2 separate regions of the Homo sapiens genome follow, and region 2 is linked to region 1. Evidence: promoter capture Hi-C in human tissues and cell types (Jung and others, 2019). All regions are on one chromosome and are shown on one strand. Each heading gives the region's core, a stretch centred on a gene start or on the middle of the fragment in contact. The rest is flanking DNA. Distances are from core to core; before and after follow the strand shown. Region 1 holds the start of SPIN1 (spindlin 1). Region 2 has its middle 54 kb from the start of SPIN1.

Region 1 (6,451 bases), core at 1,618-4,117:
TGAGAAAGCTAATCTATGTTAGAAGAGCCTGTATACCAATAATTTTAATAAACAGTTCTGTGATTTTTTTGGGTATATTTTCATTTCTACCATACCACCAATAATTTATCAGAGATCTATGTAGCTTGAATGTATTTGAGTAACTTCAACATACTTCAGCTCTCCTCCCTGATGTGACCCAAAGAGCCAGTAGGTCCTAAGTGTCCTATGTGTGTTAGAAGCCTGAAGTCAGTGAGATGAAGCCCAACCCAAGAGTTCAAGTAAAGCAACTTGTGGGGCAAGAATATAAAGAAAACAGTGGGTAGTTTGGCAAGAGCATAATTATTAAATTTTCTGGTTTTCAAAAATGTGAACTCCAATAAGAGGACCTTCAATGTGCTGTTTTTGCAATTTTCAGTAACAAATGTGTGTACAGAGAAAATAAAACTGACATATTTGAGTAGCTTTAAAAAAAAACTTTTTTTAAAAAAAGGCTGCATGATGAATCAGTTATGTGGCTTTGGACCAGTAAGGAGTCAATTTCAACCCAGACTGTTCTGACTTGGAAGGCCATTGTGATTCCATGTCTAACTCCAGAATATTGTTTTCACAATACCATAACATCTTCTAAACTGAACAAAATACTTGCACGAAATAGTTGATTCTCTTCTTCCAATTTCTTTTCATTCATGGAAAGGGAAAGAAGACACATTGAATTAAGCATCCAACAAATATAAATACAGCATTAACATTTAAATGCTATCTCAGCAAATATTTTAAAGGATAAACCAAAAGAATGTATATCGAATATACTAGAAAAAAGATGCTAGCAATGAAGGAGTGCAACCAGTAACGTTGTAACTATGTGCAATCAGGTAAGTCACTGGAAGTGAAAACCACCTAAACCTCTGGCAGCTAAAACCAAATTAGTAACTCTCATCAATATGATAGCCAAATTTGAGACACTACCCACGAAATGCAGAGGGGCACACATCAGGCACATCAATATTGTGACCCCTCAGTTCACAAGTAAGGGAGACACACAATTATCTGAGATACACTTTAAGGACACCAATGACCAACATATGGCATCGCAATGGCTGTTCCAGGGAACATCCATTTTCACTGTTTCCTGGATTTCAGGCATAGAAAGATGACTGAAGACATATAGTGGCCCTTTTGCCTTGACCCAGTTCATAACCATTGTAAAAGTAACCATTTCACTACTCAAAAGATTATAAAGAAACTATTTTTCCTAAGAATCTAGGATCTACTACCTATAATTCTGGCATACACATTCTTTACAACCTTAATATATAATTATCAAATCTGATAACGAACGTTCTGTAAATTACCAGGTACTACAATATTTTGGTGTTTGCCTTTTAACTAAAGCTGAGGGGGGAGAGTGGGGAGGTTGGAAGAAGCCTCATTTCACCTGCCCTTTCCAAAATTTCACTTCAAAAGAGTGTTAAAAAAAACTCAGTATATCCAGGTATAAATCTCCAAGTTTAATTTTCACTGCTTAACAAAAGCGATGTAGAAAGCAATTACTGTACCCTCCATTAATCCTTTCGGATTGCATGGAATTCCTTCCAGAAAATTCCAATAGAAAAAAAGTTAAGACAGGTAATCGCGTTTTGGTACGTGTGTCGTCTCTGGCACAAGTCATGTAGAGTGAAATCCTTTAAGACATTTAAATGTTCCTGGTATTGTTTTGTGATTAACGTGATAAAATTGCCAAACAATCCATATTTACCATGAGTGAAAACACTTCCACCACGTACGGAAAATCTCTCCAAAACACAAAATCTGATTCAAAAATTATAAGTAAAAAGAGAATAAATGTAAAAACAATTCCATAAACAAACTTTGAAATGCGTATACGATGACATTACTGAAGCCATTACTCAAAACGAACCTCTGTAAAATCGAGAACGCACAATCAATGCAATAAAATGCTCGAGAAAGCCAAACCCGAGGCGCTGCGCAGTTCCCGCATCGCACAATTCGTTTCAACACATTCCTTGACGAATACACCCAAGGTCACTCACGATGGAGAGGAAAAGTGCCTGTCTCTCTCCAGAGCACGCAACCCGTTCGCCGCGCCCCCACGGAGGGCGGCGAAGAGACGGCGCATCAGGAAAGGGGCTGCGCGGGCGCGAGGACTGGCCGGTGGGCGTTCCGGCGCCGCGAACCGCGGAGCCTGCAACTTACAAGGTCCGCGGCCATCCCCCGGGCCTGGGAGGGGTGGCCCCAGGGCAGGCCCGCGTCCCCGGGGTGACCCGACCCGTCGCGCCGGGGTCCCGCCCCTCCCCCCGCCCCGCCCCCGTCGCCGGCCCGGGATTATGCAACGTTCCCCCTCCCCGCCTGCATTCTGGCGCAGCGCCCCCTCCCCGCGCCCGACTGCGCAGCGCCGCCGCCCCCTGCCCGCCGGCCTCCCCGCCCGGCTCCAAACAAAGCGCGCGCTAAGGGGCCGGCGGCGGCCGGGGAACTGGGGACGAGAGGGTGGCGGCCATGTTGGCGGGGGGCGGCGGGGATGGGGGCACGGAGGAGTAGGGGCCGGCGAACAAAGGAGCGCGCGCCCGCCCCGAGGCCCAGGCCCGCCCAGCCCGGGTCCCCGCCGCGGCCCAGCCGGCAGGGGGCGCTATGCGGGCGCCGCCCGCTGGACAATGCTCCGCCGGGCCCCGCGCGGGCCGCGCTCACCTGCGCCCCCGGGCAGACCGCCGCACCGCTGGCCCGCCCGCAGCCCGCACTCCCTCACGACCCACGCCCGCCCTGCGCGGGCCTCACCTGCTGACCGCCGAGGCTGCAGTCCACAGGCCCACGGGTTCCGCCGTCGCTCGTTCGCGCTCCCGCCGGCCCCAGCCTGAGCCAGACGGCGCCTCCCCGCCCCCGCTCCCTCGCCGCGGACGCCGCCCGCCCCCCAACAGTCAGGGCGCACGCGCACTGCGCCCGCCGAACTGCGACGGCCGCGCCGCCCCGGCGCCTGGCGCCGACGGCCGACTGCGCAGGCGCAGTGGGGCGGGGCGGGGCCGGCGAGGGCGGGGCCTGGCCCCTCTCACCTGGCTGGCGGCAGGGCGGGGCTCGAGCCCGGGACTGCCAGGTGCGCGCCGGGAATGGGCGGCGGCAGGCGCGCGGGGCACAGGTTCCTGAGGGGGCGCAGCTTTTCCTGGAAGGCAGGCAGCCTGAGAAGGGCTTCGTTTTTGCGCAGTAGGACGTTGAAGAAAGGACAAGCCCCCTTTGTCCTGGACGTAAGCCGCAAGTCGTCCTGAGTGGTGCACACCGCGAAGACTGAGGAAACTGGATCACAGGGCTGGGCCGTGAGCCTTGAACCTCGGAGAACGTCGCATTACTGCTCCAGCGCGCCGGTTCAGGGCCGCGGGACGCGAGCCCTTTAAAAGGATGGATTTGCTTCCTGTGACTCCCTGGAAGAGACGTCTTCACCACCGCACTGCGTAGAGGCCGGCGTCGTCGCCGGCTCACCCCGCTTGCTGCCTCCCCGCACAAAGCCCAGCCCAGGTAGCTCAGGTTAGCTGGAGCCCCGGAGCCTCACCTACAAGTACCTGGCCTGTCCTAGGTTGTGTGGGGACGGGATGTGGCTTCTGCAAGCCCAGAAACCTGTTTCCACTCCCCCACCACAAATGGAACTCACCCAGCTCTACTCGCAAGGTTAGGAGCCAAAAATTCCCATGATCGCACGCGAATTCATTTGACTTCCGTTTCAGTTAAGATGCCTTTTCAGCATTTTGTTGCTTGTTTGCAGAAGGGAGAGAGGTAGGATCAAGAATAGTTTTTACTCCTGCAGAGTCGAGTGCGAGACTTGGAGGCTGAGTCCAGGCGCTCTCCCCTCCCCGCCAGTCCCGTGTCCTGGAGCAGGTCACTGACCTGGTTCCTCGAGTGCGACAGCGCAGCCTCATCGTAATAAACCGCCTCCCAAAGCGTTGTCAGATCAAATTCCAGAACATGTTACTGGAAAGCACCTTGAACACTCTAAACTGCAGCACAGTTATTAGTTAGCAATACTCTTTGGGGTTTCACTGGCACCTTTTCTAACAAATAAGATTGATAGATGCCTGCTCAAACAAATTGAAGTGCTTGTCTCAGATGACACACTTGGCAGGCATGGGACGTTCACAGGCCAACTAGAGAGCTAATTTCAAAACTGAGATATAAAAGTGTATCGCTGTACTTACAAGTTACCAAGTGTTGAGAAATTACTCACTTTCATTTGTGTGTTTAATGTCTTTTTTGTTTTTTTAGACGGAGTCTCACTCTGTTCCCCAGGCTGCAGTGCAGTGGCATGATCTCGGCCCACTGCAACCTCCGCTTCCTGGGTTCAAGCAATCCTCACATTTCAGCCTCCCGAGTAGCTGGGATTACAGGCGCGCACCACCATGTCCAGCTAATTTTTAAAAATATTTTTAGTAGAGACGGGGTTTCGCCATGTTGGCCAGGCCGGTCTCAAACTCCTGGCCTCCAGCAATCCGCTGGCCTCGGCCTCCTGAAGTGCTAGGATTACAGGCGTGAGCCACCGCGCCTGGCCTGTTTAATGTCTTGCAGTGGGGTCATCTCCGAAACAAAGAGGGATGGGAAGAAGGTAGGTGCCAAGAAGTCTGCTGGTTGGAAGATTTCATCTCATTGGCGAGATCCCTGGGTTTCTCCACCTCAGCAGTGTTGGCTTTTGGGATGGGATAATCCTTTCATGTGGGGTCTGTTCCATGCTTTGTAGGATGTTTGACAGCATCCCTGGCCTCCACCCACTAGATGCCAGTAGCACACACACTCCTCCAAAATTCACGGAAAACGTCTTCAAAGTCAAATATGTGGCCCCACCTTCATCTCCATCCCCAACCCCTGATTTAAAATTTGCCACTGGTGATGATCTCATTGGGAGCTATTGAGAATACACAGGACTGTGGTTTACACCTGTAATCCCAACACTTTGGGAGGCTGAGGCTGGAGGATGGCTTGAGCCCAGGAGTTTGAGACCAGCCTGGGCAACATAGCAAGACCCCAACTCTAAAATAAATAAAATTTTAAAAAATTTTAAAAAGGCCAAGAACAGTGGCTCTCACCTGTAATCCCAGCACTTTGGGAGGCCGAGGCAAGTGGATCACTTGAGGTCAGGAGTTTGAGACCAGCCTGGCCAACACAGTGAAACCCCATCTCTGCTAAAAATACAAAAATTAGCGAGGCGTGGTGGTGCACGCCTGTAATCCCAGCTGCTCCAGAGACTGAGGCAGGAGAATCGCTTGAACCCAGGAGGCAGGGTTTGCAGTGAGTCGAGACTGTGCCACTGCACTCCAGCCTGGGTGACGGAGTCAAACTCCATCTCAAAAAAAAATACACAGGATTGTGGCTCATGCCTGTAATACCGGCACTTTGGGAGGCCAAGGTGGTAGGATGGCTTGAGCCCAGGAGTTCAGGACCAGCCTGGGCAACATAGCAAGACCCCAACTGTACAATAAATAAATAAAATTTTTTAAAATGAAACAAAGGCCGGCCAGCTGCAATGGCTCACGCCTGTAATCCCAGCACTTTGGGAGGCCGAGGCAGGCAGATCACTTGAGGTCAGGAGTTCTAGACCAGCCTGGCCAACGTGGTGAAACCCCATTTCTACTAAAAATATAAAAATTAGCCAGCCGTGGTGGCAGGCACCAGTAATCCGAGCTATTTAGGAGGCTGAGGCAGGAGAATCGCTTGAACCCAGGAGGCAGGGGTTACAGTGAGCCGAGATTGCACCACTGCACTCCAGCCTGGACAACAAGAGTGAGACTCCATCTCAAAAAAAAAAAATTAAAAATAAAAGAATGCACAGTCCAGTAATGTCACCCAGCCCTATATCAGTAAAGGTCACACTCTAGAGTGGTACATATCTCAGCTGCATCTAAGGCCTTGCTAATTAGCTCATTAGAATGTCACAAATGGGTTTTTATATTACCCATGTATAGCTGCCAAAAATGTTTAAGTGAATCTAATCAAAGTTGGAAAAAAAAATAAGAAAAATCCAGGTTGGAAGACATTCAGCAAAACAATTTCCCTGCACTACACTCTAAAAAAAGTCAAGCTAGGGAATTGGTCCAGACAGATAACACAACTGGGTTGGTCCATTAAGTGACCCCTGATGCAGCACTGCATTGAAGGCAAAAAAGCTGTGAGAGAGATTTGAGGGACAACTGGGGAACTTTGTAGTTATATATGGACTATATATTAGACAGTATTATTGTATCATCATTAGATTTTTCAGTGTGACAGTGGCTATTTACAAGAATGCCCTAGTTCTTAGGATGTTAGTGCTGAATCATTAGACAAGAGACCTGATGGCTACAACTGACATATAAATGCCTCAGAGACTGATGTATTTTATATGGAGGTAAAGCAAATGTAACAAACTGTTAATAGTTGGTGGATCTAAGTGATGAGTCTAGGTGTGTTATTGTGCAGTTTTTTCAACTTTTCTGGAAAACGA
Region 2 (6,469 bases), core at 3,678-6,177, 56 kb after region 1:
CTGCCCACCTCCACCTCCCAAAGTGCTATGATTACAGGCATGAGCCACTGCAAGCGTCCTGGGATAGCACATTCTGATGCCCTACGAATGAAACCCTGTACCCATTAAATAATAATTCCCCATTTTTCCTGGCTTTGTTTTGTGGTACAAAATATATATATATTTGGCCGGGCTCAGTGGCTCACGCCTGTAATCTCAGCACTTTGGGAGGCTAAGGCAGGGGATCACAAGGTCAGGAGATGGAGACCATCCTGGCCAACATGGTGAAACCCTGTCTCTACTAAAATTACAAAAATTAACTGGGTGTGGTGGAACATGCCTGTAATCCCAGCTGCTCAGGAGGCTGAGGCAGGAGAATTGCTTGAATCTGGGAGGCGGAGATTGCAGTGAGCCGAGATCGTGCCACTGCACTCCAGCATGGCGACAGGGCGAGACTCTGTCTCAAAAAAAAAACAAAACAAAACACAAACTATATATATATATATATATATAATGTTAGAGACTTTCAAATATGTGTCTTGTTCTCTTGAATTATCCATTGCGGGGGTGAGGAGTAAGTGAGGGACCCAACCCAAACAGTTAGTTCTCCCCATTTACCCCAATCCTGGCTTCTGTCCTCCATCCTACCTACTTGCTGGAGCTCACCACACTTACATAATGTTCGTAATTAGGTGAACGTGCTCTCCACTGGTATGTGTTTCCCGCAAGTGTACTGAAATTTCTCATCTGTTGGTCACCACTTTCTCCTGCACCACCACCTCATTCTTGCTTTATTTGGATTTATTCACTCCTGTGCCTCTGAATTCTGTATCATGAGGCCTCATCAGGTGAGAGGTAGGTATGTATGATTGGTCTGCCATCCTGAATTGAAATTCCTTATTTTTTTAAAACCACTACTTAGTTTTCTGTATTAAAAAGGTGCTATAGTTTATTTAAATTTCCCTTTTGATGAACATTTAGGTTGTTTCCATTTTTCCATTGTGATAAACAATACTTCTATAAACACTTGTATACATGCATGAATGTTTCTATGGGATAGCTTTTTGGAAATGTAATTGTTGTCATAAAGTACATGCATACTGTAAAATGTTGATAGATGCTTCAAAGGGTTCATCTAAAAATTCCATAAAAATTTTCTACCAAAATTGTATGGGGATATGGTCTTCCTCCCCTTTCCATATATGTACATATGCATTGGTCTGCACTGTATGTTATTAATCTTTAATATTTATGCCCATCTAAATAGTTTAAATGATATCTCACTGTTTTACTTTACATTTATCTGATAACTATTAAGAGAAAGCATCTTTTATTGACCATCCATATATATACAGTTGTTTTTTTTTTTGAGATGTTGTCTTGCTCTGTTGCCCAGGCTGGAGTACAATGGTGCGATCTTGGCTCACTGCAACCTCTGCCTCCCGGGTTCAAGCAATTCTCCTGCCTCAGACTCCCGAGTAGCGGGGATTACAGGTGCCTGCCACCACACCTGGCTATTTTTTTGTATTTTTAGTAGAGAAGAGGTTTCACCATATTGGCCAGGCTGGTCTCGAACTCCTGATCTCAGGCCTCTCAAAAGTGCTGGGATTACAGGTGTGAGCCACCGTGCCCGGCCAGTTTATTTTCTTTATAACTTGTGTATTTCATGTCCTAATTAGTAAATACTTTACCATCTAAGACTTATAGAAATATACTCCCTTGGGGCTAGGCACTGTGGCTCATGCCTGTAATCCCAGCACTTTGGGAGGCTGAGGCAGGTGGATCACGAGGTCAAGAAATCGAGACCATCTTGGCCAACATGGTGAAACCCCATCTTTACTAAAAATACAAAAATTAGCTGGGCGTGGTGGCGTGTGTCTGTAGTCCCAGCTATTCGGGAGGCTGAGGCAGGAGAATCACTTGAACCTGGGAGGCTGAGGTTGCAGTGAGCCGAGATCGCACCATTGCACTCCAGCCTGGGCGACAGAGCGAGACTCCATCTCAAAAAAAGGAAGGAAGGAAGTAAGGAAGGAAGGAAAGAGAAATATACTCCCTTGGTTTCTTTCAGTGCTTTTGTAATATGCTTACATCTAGGACCTTAATCAATAAAATAAATTTTAAGGGTGTGTGATCTGAGGAAAATATTGCAGTTTTTCCACAGAGATCATTGTTTCAACACTATTATTTTAAAAATAATCCATTCTGTGGTGGCTCATGCCTGTAATCCCAACGCTTTGGGAGAGCGAGGTGGGAGGATTTCTTGAGCTCAGGAGTTCGAGACCAGCTTGGGCAACATAGTGAGACCCTGTCTCTATAAGAAATAAACAAAATTAGTTGGGCATGGTGGTGTGCACCTATAATCTACTCAGTGGCTGAGGTGGGAGATTTGCTTGAGCACATGAGGTCAAGGCCTGGGCAACAGAGCAAGAGCCTGGCTTTAAAACCAACAATAAATAAAAAATTACTGTGACCTTTGTCATGTACTAAACTCCCATTTGTTGAGTTGCCTCCATCAGTGCGAAAGCCACTAATTTTCGTTTCAATGCCGTTGGCTACTTTGACTTGTGATAGGATTGTGTGCTCTCATTCTTCCTCTCCTTCAACATTTTCCTGGCAGATTTTCTTTCCTTCATTTTCTTTTTTCTTTTCTTTTCTTTCTTTCTTTTTTTTTTTTTTTTTTTTTTTGAGACAGGTCTTTCCCAGGCTAGAGGGCAGGGTCTTGCCTAGGCTGGAGTGTAGTGGTGTGATCTTGGCTGACTGCAGCCTTGACCTCCCAGGTTCAAGCAATCCTCCCACTTCAGCTTCCTGAGTTTCTGGGACCACAGGTGAGGTGCATGCCACTATGCCTGGCTAATTTTGTTTATTGTTTGTAAGGGTAGGGGCCTCACTATGTTGCCCAGCCGGGTCTCAAACTCCTAGACTCAATAGATTAGCCTGCCTTGGCCTCCCAAAGTGCTGGGATTACAGACATGAGCCACCGCAGCAGGCCTATTTTCTTTTCTTTTCTTTTCTTTTTGAGACAGAGTTTTGCTCTTGTCGCCTAGGCTGGAAAGCAGAGGTGAGATCTCGGCTCACTGCAACCTCTGCCTCCCAGGTTCAAGCAATTCTGCCTCGGCCTCCGGAGTAGCTGGGATTACAGGCATGTGCTACCACGCCCCGCTAATTGTTGTTGCTGAGACAGAGTCTTGCACTGTTGCCCAGGCTGGAGTGCAGGGGCACAATATTGGCTAATTGCAACCTGCGCTTCCCAGGTTAAAGAGATTATTGTGCCTCAGCCTCCTGAGTAGCTGGGATTAGAAGTGCCTGACACCACACCTGGCTAATTTTTGTATTTTTAGTAGAGACGGGGTTTCACCATGTTGGCCAGGCTGGTCTTGAACTCCTGACCTCAGGTGATCCACCCACCTAGGTCTCCCAAAGTGCTGGCTTAATGCAATAGGAGGGAAAAAACCAGGGAGTATGAATAATAAAATAGATGACTGTCTTACACACAAAATGCATGACGGTTATTTATGCATTTTATATAACGGAAAAACTAGTGGAACTAACAGGAAAGTTCCATAAGATGGACAGATATAGTTCGAACAAACAATAACCACTGGCTTTTTTTTTTTTTTGAGACGGAGTCTCACTCTGTTGCCCATGCTGGAGTACAATGGTGTGATCTCGGCTCACTGCAACCTCCGCCTACCAGGTTCAAACGATTCTCCTGTCTCAGCCTCCCGAGTAGCTGGGACTACAGGCGCCTGCCACCACTCCTGACCACCCTGGCCAGGCTGGTCTCGAATTCCTGACCTCAGGAGATCCGCCCCCTGCCTGCAAAACATTGCTCCTAACTCCACCTCCTATCCCAAAACCTATAAGAACTAATGATAATCAGCCAGGCACGGTGGCTCAGGCCTGTAATCCCAGCACTTCGGGAGGCCGAAGCAGCCAGATCACGAGGTCAGAAGATCGAGACCATCCTGGCTAACACAGTGAAACCCCGTCTCTAGTAAAAATACAAAAAAATTAGCTGGGCCTGGTGGTGGGTGCCTGTAGCCCCAGCTACTCGGGAGGCTGAGGCAGGAGAATGGCGTGAACCTGGGAGGCAGAGCTTGCAGTGAGCTGAGATTGTGCCACTGCACTCCAGCCTGGGTGACAGAGCAAGACTCCGTCTCAAAAAAGAAAAAAAATTATAATTTTGTACTCTGATATACTCGTCACTGTAAACAGCAAAAATCAAATGGGCACATCTGTAATAAAATAATACATTCAAATAAAAGATATTATAAAATATTTCTTTGGCAATAAAAAGCTTCTAACTTCTCCTGTAGTTAACATTCTAAATTCTGAGAAAAAAATTGTCAGGCCTCTGAGCCCAAGCTAAGCCATCATATCCCCTGTGACCTGCAGGATATGCTCCAGATGGCCTGAAGCAACTGAAGATCCACAAAAGAAGTGAAAATAGCCTTAACTGATGACATTCCTACACTGTGATTTGTTCCTGCCCCACCCTAACTGATCAATGTACTTTGTAATCTCCCCCACCCTTAAGAAGGTTCTTTGTAATTCTCCCCACCCTTGAGAATGTACTTTGTGAGATCCACCCCCTGCCCACAAAACATTGCTCCTAACCCCACCACCTATCCCAAAACCTATAAGAACTAATGATAATCAGGGGGGCACGATGGCTCAGGCCTGTAATCCCAGCACTTTGGGAGGCCGAGGCAGCCAGATCACGAGTTCAGAAGATCGAGACCATCCTGGCTAACACAGTGAAACCCCGTCTCTAGTAAAAATACAAAAATTTAGCTGGGCGTGGTGGCGGGTGCCTGTAGTCCCAGCTACTCGGGAGGGTGAGACAGGAGAATGGCGTGAACCCGGGAGGCGGAGCTTGCAGTGAGCTGAGACTGCGCCAGTGCACTCCAGCCTGGGTGACAGAGCGAGACTCCATCTCCAAAAAAGAAAAAGAACCAATGATAATCCCACCACCCTTTGCTGACTCTCCTTTCGGACTCAGCCCGTCTGCACCCAGGTGAAATAAACAGCCTTGTTACTCACACAAAGCCTGTTTGGTGGTGTCTTCACCCGGACGCATGTGACAAAAATGTCCATAGAATCTTGGGGCAAAAACATTTCCAAACGATATAAAATTCAGTCTGTTTATTGAGATAGAGGAAATTTATCTTGTATGAAGCTACCTAGCTACTCAAAAGCAGTTGAATATTGTGTTTTAGCAATTACAAAAAGAGTACCAATCTTAGATAAAACGTAACCTTCAGGATAGTAGAAGTGTGGAATCTACCAGATTGCTCACTGTGGGGATGAAACCCAATCCGCATGCTGTGCCCAGGATCCTGTGAATAAATCTCTTCTAAGGCATGGAAATGGCATCACTAATTCTTGAGTAGTCTGACAATGTGCCTATTCATAATCAAAAATTTCTTTTTTTTTTCTTCTTGAGACAGGGTCTTGCTCTGTTGCCCAGGTTGGAGTGCAGTGGCGTGATCTCGGCTCACTGCAATCTCTGCCTCCCAGGTTCAAGCGATTCTCCTGCCTCAGCCTCTTGAGTAGCTGGGATTACAGGCGCCCAACACCGTGCTTGGTTAATTTTTGTATTTTTAGTAGAGACGGTTTTCACTATGTTGGCCAGGCTGGTCTTGAACTCCTGGCCTCAAGTGATCCGCCTGCCTCGGCCTCCCAAAGTACTGGGATTACAGGAGTGAGCCACCTTGCCGGCCAGTTTCTCATTTTATTCAATAACTTCTCTTCTGGCTTCATATCCCAGAGTTAGCTTCTCAGAAATGGTTTTTTTTTTTAAGCTACAAGTGCTGGCCGGGCGCGGTGGCTCGCGCCTGTAATCCCAGCACTTTGGGAGGCAGAGGTGGGTGGAACACCTGAGATCAGGAGTTCAAGACCAGCCTGACCAACATGGAGAAACCCCGTGTCTACTAAAAATACAAAATTAGCCTGGGTGGTGGTGCATGCCTGTAATGCCAGCTACTTGGGAGGCTGAGGCAGGAGAATCGCTTGAACCTGGGAGGCGGAGGTTGCAGTGAGCCGAGATCGCACCATTGCACTCCAGCCTGGGCAAAAAGAGCGAAACTCCGTCTCAAAAAAAAAAAAAAAAAAAAAAAAAGCTGCAAGTGCTTTCAGGACACCTGGAATGGCCTTTTGCTCCTCTTCCCCTTCTTAGCCCTGTTAGTCCTTTAGACCTCAGCGTAACCACCACTTTATCAAGGCAGCTTTTTTTGATGCCCAGGCAGGGCCAGACCTTCCTGGTGGGTGCCTAGAGCTCTCTTGACTTCACATTCCAGCCATCTATCACAAGCTTGGCCCTGCATCAAAGCTCCATGGCGCATGGATCGGGCATGCTCCCCCTCCAGCAAAGTATTTCAACCCATATTCATCCATATTTGTGCAACGAATGACTGGGTAGTGTATTAGTTCATTCTTGCATTGCTATAAAGAACTACCTGAGACTGGGTAATTTATAAAGAAAAGAGGT

What was found. Contacts are between HindIII fragments. The study calls those that stand out against the background at their distance.
Region 2: a contact is called between a fragment that was not itself captured here and the fragment with the promoter of SPIN1 in region 1, in 1 of the 25 tissues and cell types used here (stomach).

Annotation. Positions count from the first base shown.
Region 1 is chr9:88,384,860-88,391,310 of GRCh38, reverse strand. It overlaps SPIN1 (spindlin 1), which reads right to left and starts at 2,867. Exons shown (of 6, transcript NM_006717.3): 1 at 2,773-2,867. LOC124902204 (a long non-coding RNA gene) reads left to right here and starts at 2,112. Exons shown (of 2, transcript XR_007061652.1): 1 at 2,112-2,199; 2 at 3,194-6,451. RefSeq lists a silencer at 2,215-3,114 and an enhancer at 3,192-4,051. The HindIII fragment of the contact is 12,466 bases long and covers 1-6,451 here.
Region 2 is chr9:88,330,846-88,337,314 of GRCh38, reverse strand. No RefSeq gene overlaps it. Among named protein-coding and RNA genes, the nearest start is that of SPIN1, 54 kb to the left of the region's middle. The HindIII fragment of the contact is 6,357 bases long and covers 1,749-6,469 here.